Regions from separate parts of the Homo sapiens genome. Here all the other regions are linked to region 3. The links are contacts of gene promoters, found by promoter capture Hi-C in human tissues and cell types (Jung and others, 2019). All regions are on one chromosome and are shown on one strand. Each heading gives the region's core, a stretch centred on a gene start or on the middle of the fragment in contact. The rest is flanking DNA. Distances are from core to core; before and after follow the strand shown.

What was found. The method cuts DNA at HindIII sites, captures the fragments that hold promoters and counts their contacts. A contact is called where the count stands out against the background at its distance.
Region 1: the fragment with the promoter of DPP9 here is called in contact with the fragment with the promoter of TLE2 in region 3 in 1 of the 25 tissues and cell types used here (spleen).
Region 2: the fragment with the promoter of ADAT3 here is called in contact with the fragment with the promoter of TLE2 in region 3 in 1 of the 25 tissues and cell types used here (dorsolateral prefrontal cortex).

The regions. Positions count from the first base shown.
Region 1 is chr19:4,722,572-4,725,271 of GRCh38, forward strand. It overlaps DPP9 (dipeptidyl peptidase 9), which reads right to left and starts at 1,271. Exons shown (of 22, transcript NM_139159.5): 1 at 1,103-1,271. TRG-TCC1-1 (tRNA-Gly (anticodon TCC) 1-1) reads left to right here and starts at 1,499; the gene lies at 1,499-1,570. It overlaps TRV-CAC3-1 (tRNA-Val (anticodon CAC) 3-1), which reads right to left and starts at 2,136; the gene lies at 2,064-2,136. LOC105372250 (a long non-coding RNA gene) reads left to right here and starts at 309. Exons shown (of 3, transcript XR_936274.2): 1 at 309-415; 2 at 2,049-2,138; 3 at 2,564-2,700. RefSeq lists silencers at 1,072-1,221, 1,452-1,541, 1,992-2,191. The HindIII fragment of the contact is 28,361 bases long and covers 1-2,700 here.
Region 2 is chr19:1,903,904-1,906,691 of GRCh38, forward strand. It overlaps ADAT3 (adenosine deaminase tRNA specific 3), which reads left to right and starts at 1,496. Exons shown (of 2, transcript NM_138422.4): 1 at 1,496-1,536. SCAMP4 (secretory carrier membrane protein 4) reads left to right here and starts at 1,496. Exons shown (of 7, transcript NM_079834.4): 1 at 1,496-1,536. RefSeq lists enhancers at 490-549, 830-889, 1,910-1,999 and silencers at 1,220-1,549, 1,600-1,749. The HindIII fragment of the contact is 31,876 bases long and covers 1-2,788 here.
Region 3 is chr19:3,027,580-3,030,600 of GRCh38, forward strand. It overlaps TLE2 (TLE family member 2, transcriptional corepressor), which reads right to left and starts at 1,701. Exons shown (of 20, transcript NM_003260.5): 1 at 1,302-1,701; 2 at 1,127-1,224; 3 at 740-803; 4 at 250-294. The coding sequence starts at 1,325. The HindIII fragment of the contact is 30,131 bases long and covers 1-3,021 here.

The DNA of each region.
Region 1 (2,700 bases), core at 21-2,520, 1.7 Mb after region 3:
ATGAATGTGGCAGGTTAATGGAAGCACCGGCCAGCCGTTCAGCCTCCCCCACTCAGGAGCTGCAGACTGTCAGGCCCGATTCTACCTGGCTAGATTCTAGCTCTGCCTTGAAGCCCTGCAGCACTGTCTGCATGCCCTGGACAGAATCTGGGAGAGAAGCCATCCCACGGGCCCCGATTCCCCTGGGACCCAGCAGAGGAATGCAGGGATTGGTGCCTACGGTCCACACCCCCTGGGCTTTAGTCCCAGCTCCTCGAAAGCAGGTTGGTTCTTGCCTGGGAGGCAAGTGACTTCCTCCTGGGGCCCCTGGGGAAGACCAGGGGGTGGGGGCCAAGGGAATAGACCACTTTTGATGGCTCAGAGGCAGCGTGAACAGGGAAGTGTCAGGGCTGGCCTAAGGCTGTGTGGGAAGAAGGTAGGCGGTTGGACAGGCCTGAGAAGGGAGGCTGAGAGAAGGGGGCTGAACCCTGTGGGCTGGACCCTTGGAAGACAGCTATGCTAACCACTACACCACCAACGCCTCGGCAGGAAAAAGAGTCTCTGGATACCCTTAATAGAGGGATCAAGTAGGGTTGAGGATCAGGACTGGATTGGGGAGACCAAGCCTCGGGGCGAAGGTTGGAGGAAGTGGTAAAGGAGTGAGGACAGGATGCAGGTCGAGGGAGGTGGCCTCTGTGCATATACAGCATTTGCATGGGGAGAGGGAGGAGATCGGGACCTCCAGAGCCTGCACGAAAGGGGAGAGGGTGTCAAGGTCTGCAGCTACGAGGACGTTCTTGGGTGCGGCCACCTCCGGAAGGGGTCAGAGCCTGGTGGCCTGGGCAGCAACGGGATGGGTGGGGAAGCCCATCAGGGAAGGGGAGAAACTGGGAGGTGGCCTGGCCAGCGCAGGAATCGGGGAGGGAAAGAAGGTGGAGGAGGGCCTGGGGCGGAGAGGAAACGAGGCAGGGGGCCGGAGGGACCCACAGACGGGTGCATGGAGGCTCCGGGGTGCGGGGAGGCCAGGCGATGGCGAGGGCAGGGTCAGGGCCGAGGCGGGGCCGGTCAATGGCGGGTTCAGGGTCGCGGCCGGGGCGGGACGAGGCGCGCGGGCGCTGCTCACCGGGACGTGGGGCGGCGGCCGGACTGGGCAGGTCGTCCCGGGTCCAGCGGCGCCTCACGGTCGCGGCTCCATGCCCGGGACTGCGACCCCGGAAGTGGCGGGAGCGGGGGACGACAGCCGCGGCGGACACAGGGGACCCGCCGGCTCAGGCACCTTTGACCCGGAAGTTGAGCGACCCAGGCGGCGGCCTGGGATTGGACACCACCAGGCACGTACCAAGGCGTCCGCGGCGCTTGGGGGGGAGCCCGCGGCGCGGCGGCCTAAGGTGCGTAACGCCCCATGAACGACATCTTCCGGTGGGTTAGGGAGAGACACCCCCCTGTGACTTGGTATCACTCAGTCAAACCCATGATCCCCCACTATTAAGGATATCCGGAGAGGATGCTACCTATCAGGGCGTTGGTGGTATAGTGGTTAGCATAGCTGCCTTCCAAGCAGTTGACCCGGGTTCGATTCCCGGCCAACGCATGCGGTACCACTTTTGCGAGTTTGAAATTTTCATTTTAGTTTTGAGACGGAGTCTCGCTCGGTCCCCCAGGCTGGAGTGCAGTGGCGTGATCTCCGCTCACTGCAACCACCACCTCCCAGGTTCAAACGATTCTCCTGCCTCAGCCTCCCAAGTAGCTGTGATTACAAGCGCACGCCACCACGCCCATCTAATTTTTGTATTTTTAGTAGAGATGGGGTGGGGTGGGGCGGGGTGGGGCGGGGTGGGGGGGGGGGGGCGGTTCACCATTTTGGCCAGGCTGGTCTCGAACTCTGACTTCAGGTGATCCGCCCTCTTCGGCCTTTCAAAGTGCTGGGATTACAGGCGTGAGCCATCAATCACGGAAAATTTTTTTAAATCCCATAAAAATGTCTAAAAGGCAGGAGGAAGGCGGAAGAGAAAGAATGGGACTAGAATCGTTCTTTCGGTGAATTTCAAATAGTATTACTCTCCGGTTAGGAAAAACAGCTGACCTGTTTCCGCCCGGGATCGAACCGGGGACCTTTCGCGTGTGAGGCGAATGTGATAACCGCTACACTACGGAAACCGGTAGGCGTCAGGGTTCTTTAAATTCTCCTATAGAGATAATGTTGCAGTGATAGTTGCGTTGTCCCACCAAAGAAACACTGGCTACAGTCAGCTAAAGCAATATCCGCTCTTCCTGAATATCTGTTATTGTATTTGATACAGTAGAGACCGAAAGAAGGAAAATAAGGAAGACAAAAAGAAATCCAATAAACACCCTTTCCAACACACCCACCCACCCACACACATGTTTATCACTTTATCATAAATCCACCTTCCATTAAAACAATGCACGTCAAACGGCCCACAAACCCATCCGGGGTCAAATGAAGCTTTTCATCTCATAGATATCAATCTATACTTGATATCACATTAGTTTCTGCAGATATTCACCATTTTGCTTTAGATCAAACTACTTTTTTGTGTGTTTTGTTTTTTGTATTTTTTAGAGAGAGTCTCGTTCTGTCGCCTAGGCTCGAGTGCAGTGGTACGATCATCCCTCCCTGCAGCCTCCACCTCCTGGGCTCAAGCGATCCTCCCACCTCAGCCTCCTGGGTAGCTTGGACCACAGGTGTGGACCACCACG
Region 2 (2,788 bases), core at 246-2,745, 1.1 Mb before region 3:
TCACCATAAACTCCCTCACACTCTGCAGGTTTACCTAACTGTATGCATCTAATTATGTGATTACCTAAAAGTTCCAGGAACAGGCTGGGCACGGTGGCTCACGCCTGTAATCTCAGCACTTTGGGAGGCCGAGGCGGGCAGATCACCTGAAGTCAGGAGTTTGAGACCAGCCTGACCAACATGGAGAAACCCCATCTCTATTAAAAATACAAAATTAGCCAGGTGTGGTGGCGTGTGCCTGTAATCCCAGCTACTCGGGAGGCTGAGGCAGGAGAATCACTTGAATCTGGGAGGTGGAGGTTGCGGTGAGCTGAGATCGTGCTGCTGCACTCCAGCCTCGGTGACAAGAGCGAGACTGTCTCGAAAAAAAAGAAAAAAGAAAGAACGTTTTAGAGCTAATCTGGAGACAGGCCAAGCACGGAGACCCACCTGCAAAATCCCAGAGATTTCCTCAAGGTGGTCTGCAACCCGGCCCTTATTAGGATGAGGCCAGCCTGCGCTTTTAAGCCACCAAAATTCATGAACACACAGAGCTTATAATCAGCACCTCCCCTGCACACCCACCATTCCCAGTTCCCCTTTTTTAGCCCCTCACCCCAGCCTCAAGTTTGAAGGGGTTTCTGGAGGCCTAAACCAGCTGCCTCCCTGCTGCGAACTCTGAAAGGAAGTCACCTTCCTTTCACTGCACTTTTTCCTCCTTACTGGTTTGTCAAGACTCTGGCATCGGAGCCTGAGCTGGTTACAGCCAGGCACTGTCAAGCTGTTGGGGGAGGGGATGACAAATTCCCTCCCGTTGAGAACCACTTGGTTAAACCTGTCCAACTGGAAGGAGTAACAAATTGCTCATAAAATATGCATGTTTTGGTGAAACCCCTTCTCTACTAAAAGTACAAAAACTAGCCAGAAATCGCTTGAACCCAGGAGGTGGAGGTTGCAGTGAGCCTAGCACTGCACTCCAGCCTGGGTGACAGACTGAGGCTACGTCTCAAAAAAAAAAAAAAAAATGTGCTTGTTTGGCCCAGGAGAGGCAAGAGGTCTTCTTCACCTACGTTACTGGTGAGAAAACTCAAACCTGAGGGCGGCCCACGCCGGAGTGCAGTAACAGGCAGAACTGGAACCTGGCCCCATCCCGGACTCAGGGGACGGGTGTCATATACCCCCTCTGCCTCATCCTTCCCACTCTGCTAACCTTCCAAAGATCCCCCGGGTTCCGAGTTTTCCCTGGCCGCTTGATGGGATTCGAACCTGCAAACTCAGCGCTCGCCCAGCGCAGCGGCCCCGCCTCTCCTCCCCTCCCGCCGCCCGGAGGTCATGTGAGCGCAGTGCCGGAGCGGGGCGGGGCGAGGCGGCGGCGCGCAGTGCCTACTAGCAATTGTAGTCCTTGCCCCACCTTGGCCTGGCGAAGATCCCGCCCCTGGAACTACGCTCCCGTCGTGCTCCGCGGCTCCAGGCGGAGACGAGGCGGGGTGAGGTGGGTTGGGCCGGGCCGGTTGCTAAGACTTGGCGAAGCGCTGCGCTCGCGCCCGGATCCCTCAGGTAAGCGCGCGGCCCCGAGGTCTCGGGTTCTCCAGGCTCAGACTTCCCCAGAGGGGGAGTAGGGGCTGACATGGGGGGTCTCGGCGGTGAGGGGCGCCGGCCGTTTGTGGGGAGAAAACGGGGGGCCCAGGCCAGCCTCGCGCGCGTCTCGGGCGGGCCGGTGGGCGACGCGGGGAGGCGGCGCGAATGCGCGTGCGCGCGCGCGCGCGGCGCTGGCCTGGGGGAAGCCTCAGGACCGCGCTCCCCCGGGCCTAGCGCCTTTCTGCGCGTGTGCGCCCTTATGGTCGGTGCGGGAGACCCCGTATCCTCCAGCTGCTTCCGGTGGCCCTTCCTCAGGTCATGTCCCGCAGTCCCCTGCCTCTGAACCGCGCTCTCGCGAGTTTCCGTAGCCTTCGCGTCCTTCCTCCCCAGCTCTGATTCGCCTTTATGTGGAGATTCCCCTAGGCCTTGGTACATCCCCAGAATTGACCATCGTTCCTCATCGTTACCTAGAGTATGAGTTTTTCAGGTTTTTGTATCACAGGCCCCCAGTTATCTCCCACACACTACCCCGAGGACCGAGGTTCCCCGCTGTCTTGCAGAGAAGGCCTCCTTGTAGGGTGGCCAGAAACAGAGGATCGACTCCGTGGAAACAAGGACGGCTGGGTGCAGTTCCTCACCCTATAACCCCAGCACTTTGGGAGGCCAAGGCGAGTGGATCACCTGAGGTCCGGAGTTCGAGACCAGCCTGTCTAACATGGTGAAACTCCATCTCTGCCAAAAATACAAAAATTAGCTGGGCGTGGTGTCACGCGCCTGTAAAACCAGCTACTGGGGAGGCCAAGGCAGGAGAATCGCTTGGACTTGGGAGGTGGAGGTTGCAGTGAGCCAAGATGGCACCATTGTACTCCAGGCTGAGCAAGCTAGCAAGACTCACTCTCCAAAAAAAAGAAAAAAAGATTTTTTTTTAATAAGCCAGGCATGGTGACACATGTCTGTGGTCCCAGCTACTTGGGAGGCTGAGGCAGGAGGATTGCTTGAGCCCCGGAGGTTGAGGCTGCAGTGAACTGTGATGGCACTACTGCATTCCAGCCTGGGCAACAGAGCGAGACCCTGTCTCTAAATAAATAAATAAAATACATACGTGTAGCGCCGGCCGTGGTGGCTCACGCCTGTAATCCTAGCACTTTGGGAGGCCAAGGCGGGTGGATCACGAGATCAGGAGATCAAGACCATCCTGGCTAACACGGTGAAACCCTGTCTCTACTAAAAA
Region 3 (3,021 bases), core at 451-2,950:
GCCTGCATCTCTGCTGGACGCTCCAACTGCTAGATACTGTCTTCAGAAGGTGGGACTCATTTTCCTTCCACGAGGCTGAAATCTGTCTTCCTGGTCCCAGATGGGCCCTCTGTGACCTCTGCGGAGATTTCAGGATGAGACCCGTGTTCCCTAGGTCTGCTCTGGCCCCGGCTGCCCACTCTGGGTCCTTCTCAGGGCTTCCAGACCCCCACCCTCCCTCCTGAACACGCGTAACCCCAACCCAGTTACCTGCTTATGCATTTCAATGTTGAGCCCGTACGACATCTCATAATACTGCAAAGGAAAAACCAAGTAAGAACGTCTAGGGTGGAGATGGGTGCCCTCCTCCAGATAGGTGATGCCAGGGTCTTCCAAGAGTCCCCAGGTTCAGGGGAATCACAGCAGGAAGCAGAGCCCCCCCCAGCTCCACGGGGTCCCAGAGGAGGAAGCGGGGGCTCTGCCTGGAAGGGCCCCCTCTACTCTCCCCAGAGAGGCAGGGCAGGTAGGAAGTGTCCAGAGGCCCTGGCCCGACAGAGACTCCCATCAGGCGAGGGGTCCTCCCTGTCTCCCCATTCCCAGAGCTGGGAGGACCCTCCTAGAGAGCCTGAAATCCCAACCTGCCCAATGTACAGACGGGGAAGACGAGGTTCGGAGTGGGGCAGGGACCTACCCCAGAGTCCACCGTGACTCAAAGCCCTGCCCGCCTCTCCCCTCACCCTGGCATCATAAGTGCCCTCACCATGACATAATGTCGCTGCATTTCCGTCTTCTCGCTGGCCAGCTTCTCACATTCTAGCTTGAGGCTGAGAAGAAGAGAGAGGGCAAGGGGCTCCCACCCGCCCCATGTGGGCCGGCTTCCAAAGTGAGAGGCTGGATCTCCCCCTCCCGACTTCCTTACAGACCTCCCCCCACCTCCTGTCCCAGTCCCTCCCCGCCCCTTCCTGGGCTCCAAATGCCCCAGCTCTGACTGTCCCCAGACCCCTCTGCACCTGCGCTTCCACCTGGAGGCCTTTGTCGCGCCCCCCCTCCAACCGGGAGCCCCTCCTCCCCGCCCTATACCCCGGAGGCCTCGCCCCGCCCCGGCGCCCAGGTGAACTCCCGCGGCCCCTGGGGCGGCCCCCCTCACCTGTGGTATTGAGCCTGAAGAAACTGGAATTCTTCTTTGATGCGGTCGCAGATCTCCAAGATCGAGAACTTGAAGGGCTGGCCGGACTGGAGCGGGGTCTGGGGGGGGTGTGGGGGAAACGTCAGGGTCTGAGTTCCCGGACACTGGGGGCCCCCTCCCCGCAGTCCGCACTCACCGGGTGCCTTCCCTGGGGGTACATCCTGCCGATCCGAAAAGCCCCCCAGGCGCCACCAGAGCTTGATGATATGGAGGCGGCAAGAGTGGGGGAGGCTGAAGTGGGGTGGTGGGGAGGCTGCCCGAAGAAAGAGGGAGGAGGGAGAAGCGGCGCGGGGCAAGGGACCCTGGAGTCCCTGGCGCGCCCCCAAGCGCGCGCGCCCGGGGTCGTGGGAGCCCCTCCCCGGGTTGGGGTGCGCGGGGCGAGCGGGGCGGGCAGGGGCAGCGGCCGGGGCGGGAGCGCGGCGAGGGCGGCCGCGGCAGCCGGCGCAGAAGGTCGGGCGCGCCGCGGCCGGGTTTCGGTGGCGGCGGCGCGGGCGGCGGGCCCCGCGCGGAGCCGCCTCCCTCCGGCGGGGCTCGGCCGGGAGCCGCGGGCTGAGCCGCCTTAAGGTGGCGCCGCCGCCCCCACGCGCCCGCGGCCCGCCCCGCGCCCACCCCCGCGCACCGCCCCTCCCCGCGCCCGCGCCCCCCCCGGCCCCCGGGCACCCGCCCCCTTCCTTCAGTCCCTGGGCCGTTGGGGAAACTGAGGCCGGGTGGGGAGGCGCCCAGTGCCTTAAAACAGGGTCCCCACCCCCTCCCGGAGGGGCGGGAGAAGAAAAACCAGTGAAGAAATTCACACCGTGTTACCCACCGTGGGAGCGGGGGGGGGGGCTTGCGGGGAGCGGGGACCAGTCTGGAGTCGGAAATGGCTTTTCTGAGCAAGTGACATTGGGTTGAGATTGAAGGGTCAGCAGGACGCAGCCTTGCCAAGCGCTGGCAGGGAACCCTGCCAGAAAGGGAATCTCACAGCAAACACTGCTTCCCAGATCATGCCGGGCCCTCGCCCTCTGGGGGCCTCAGTAGTCTCTGCAAAAGGTCAGGGGTGGTGCGCTATCTTTAGGGTTTAATTTTTTGCAGAGATAGGGTCTCCCTGTGTTGCCCAGGCTGGAGTACAGTGGGGCAATCATGGCTCACTGCAGCCTCGAACTCCTGGGCTCAAGCGATCCTTCCCCCTCAGCTTCTCCAGTAGCTGGGACTACAGGTGTGCACCACCACGCCCAGCTAATTTTTTAATTTTTTGCAGAGATGGAGTAGGGGGGCGTCTCACTATGTTGCCCAGGCTGGTCTTGAACTCCTGGACTCAAGCCTCTCTCTTCGGCCTTCCAAAGTGCTGGGATTACGGGCGGGAGCCACCGCACTGGGCACTGCACTTAAATGAGATAGTGCATGAACGCTGTCAGCCTCTCCCTACACAGAGCAAACTTCCACAGATGGGAATTGTGTTCCTACTGCCATCACCAGTGGACTGGGCTGTCTCCCCTCTCAGACTGGGTTTCTTGAAGGCAGGAGCCGTGTCCCACTCAGAACTGGAAGAACCACAGCTCTGCCATCAGACTCAAGTCTCTCCCACGGCAAAGGCTCCAGCCCCGACCAGAGACCACAGACATCCAGCCAGCATCCTTCAGGCCCACCCGGGGAGTGGGAAGTTCTTATTCTCTTTGGAGAAACCTCAGGAGAGGTTTGTGAAGTCAATCAACAAACGTGTACTAAATGCATACTGTGGACCACACACTGCTGTAGACACTGGGGCACAGCTGGGAACAAAACAGAGAAAAATCCATGCCCCTTGATGACACTTGGACTTGTGTCCTTAGGTGATCGAGTACCTAATGGTACCTAAGGGTTAGGGTTACAAAAACCCA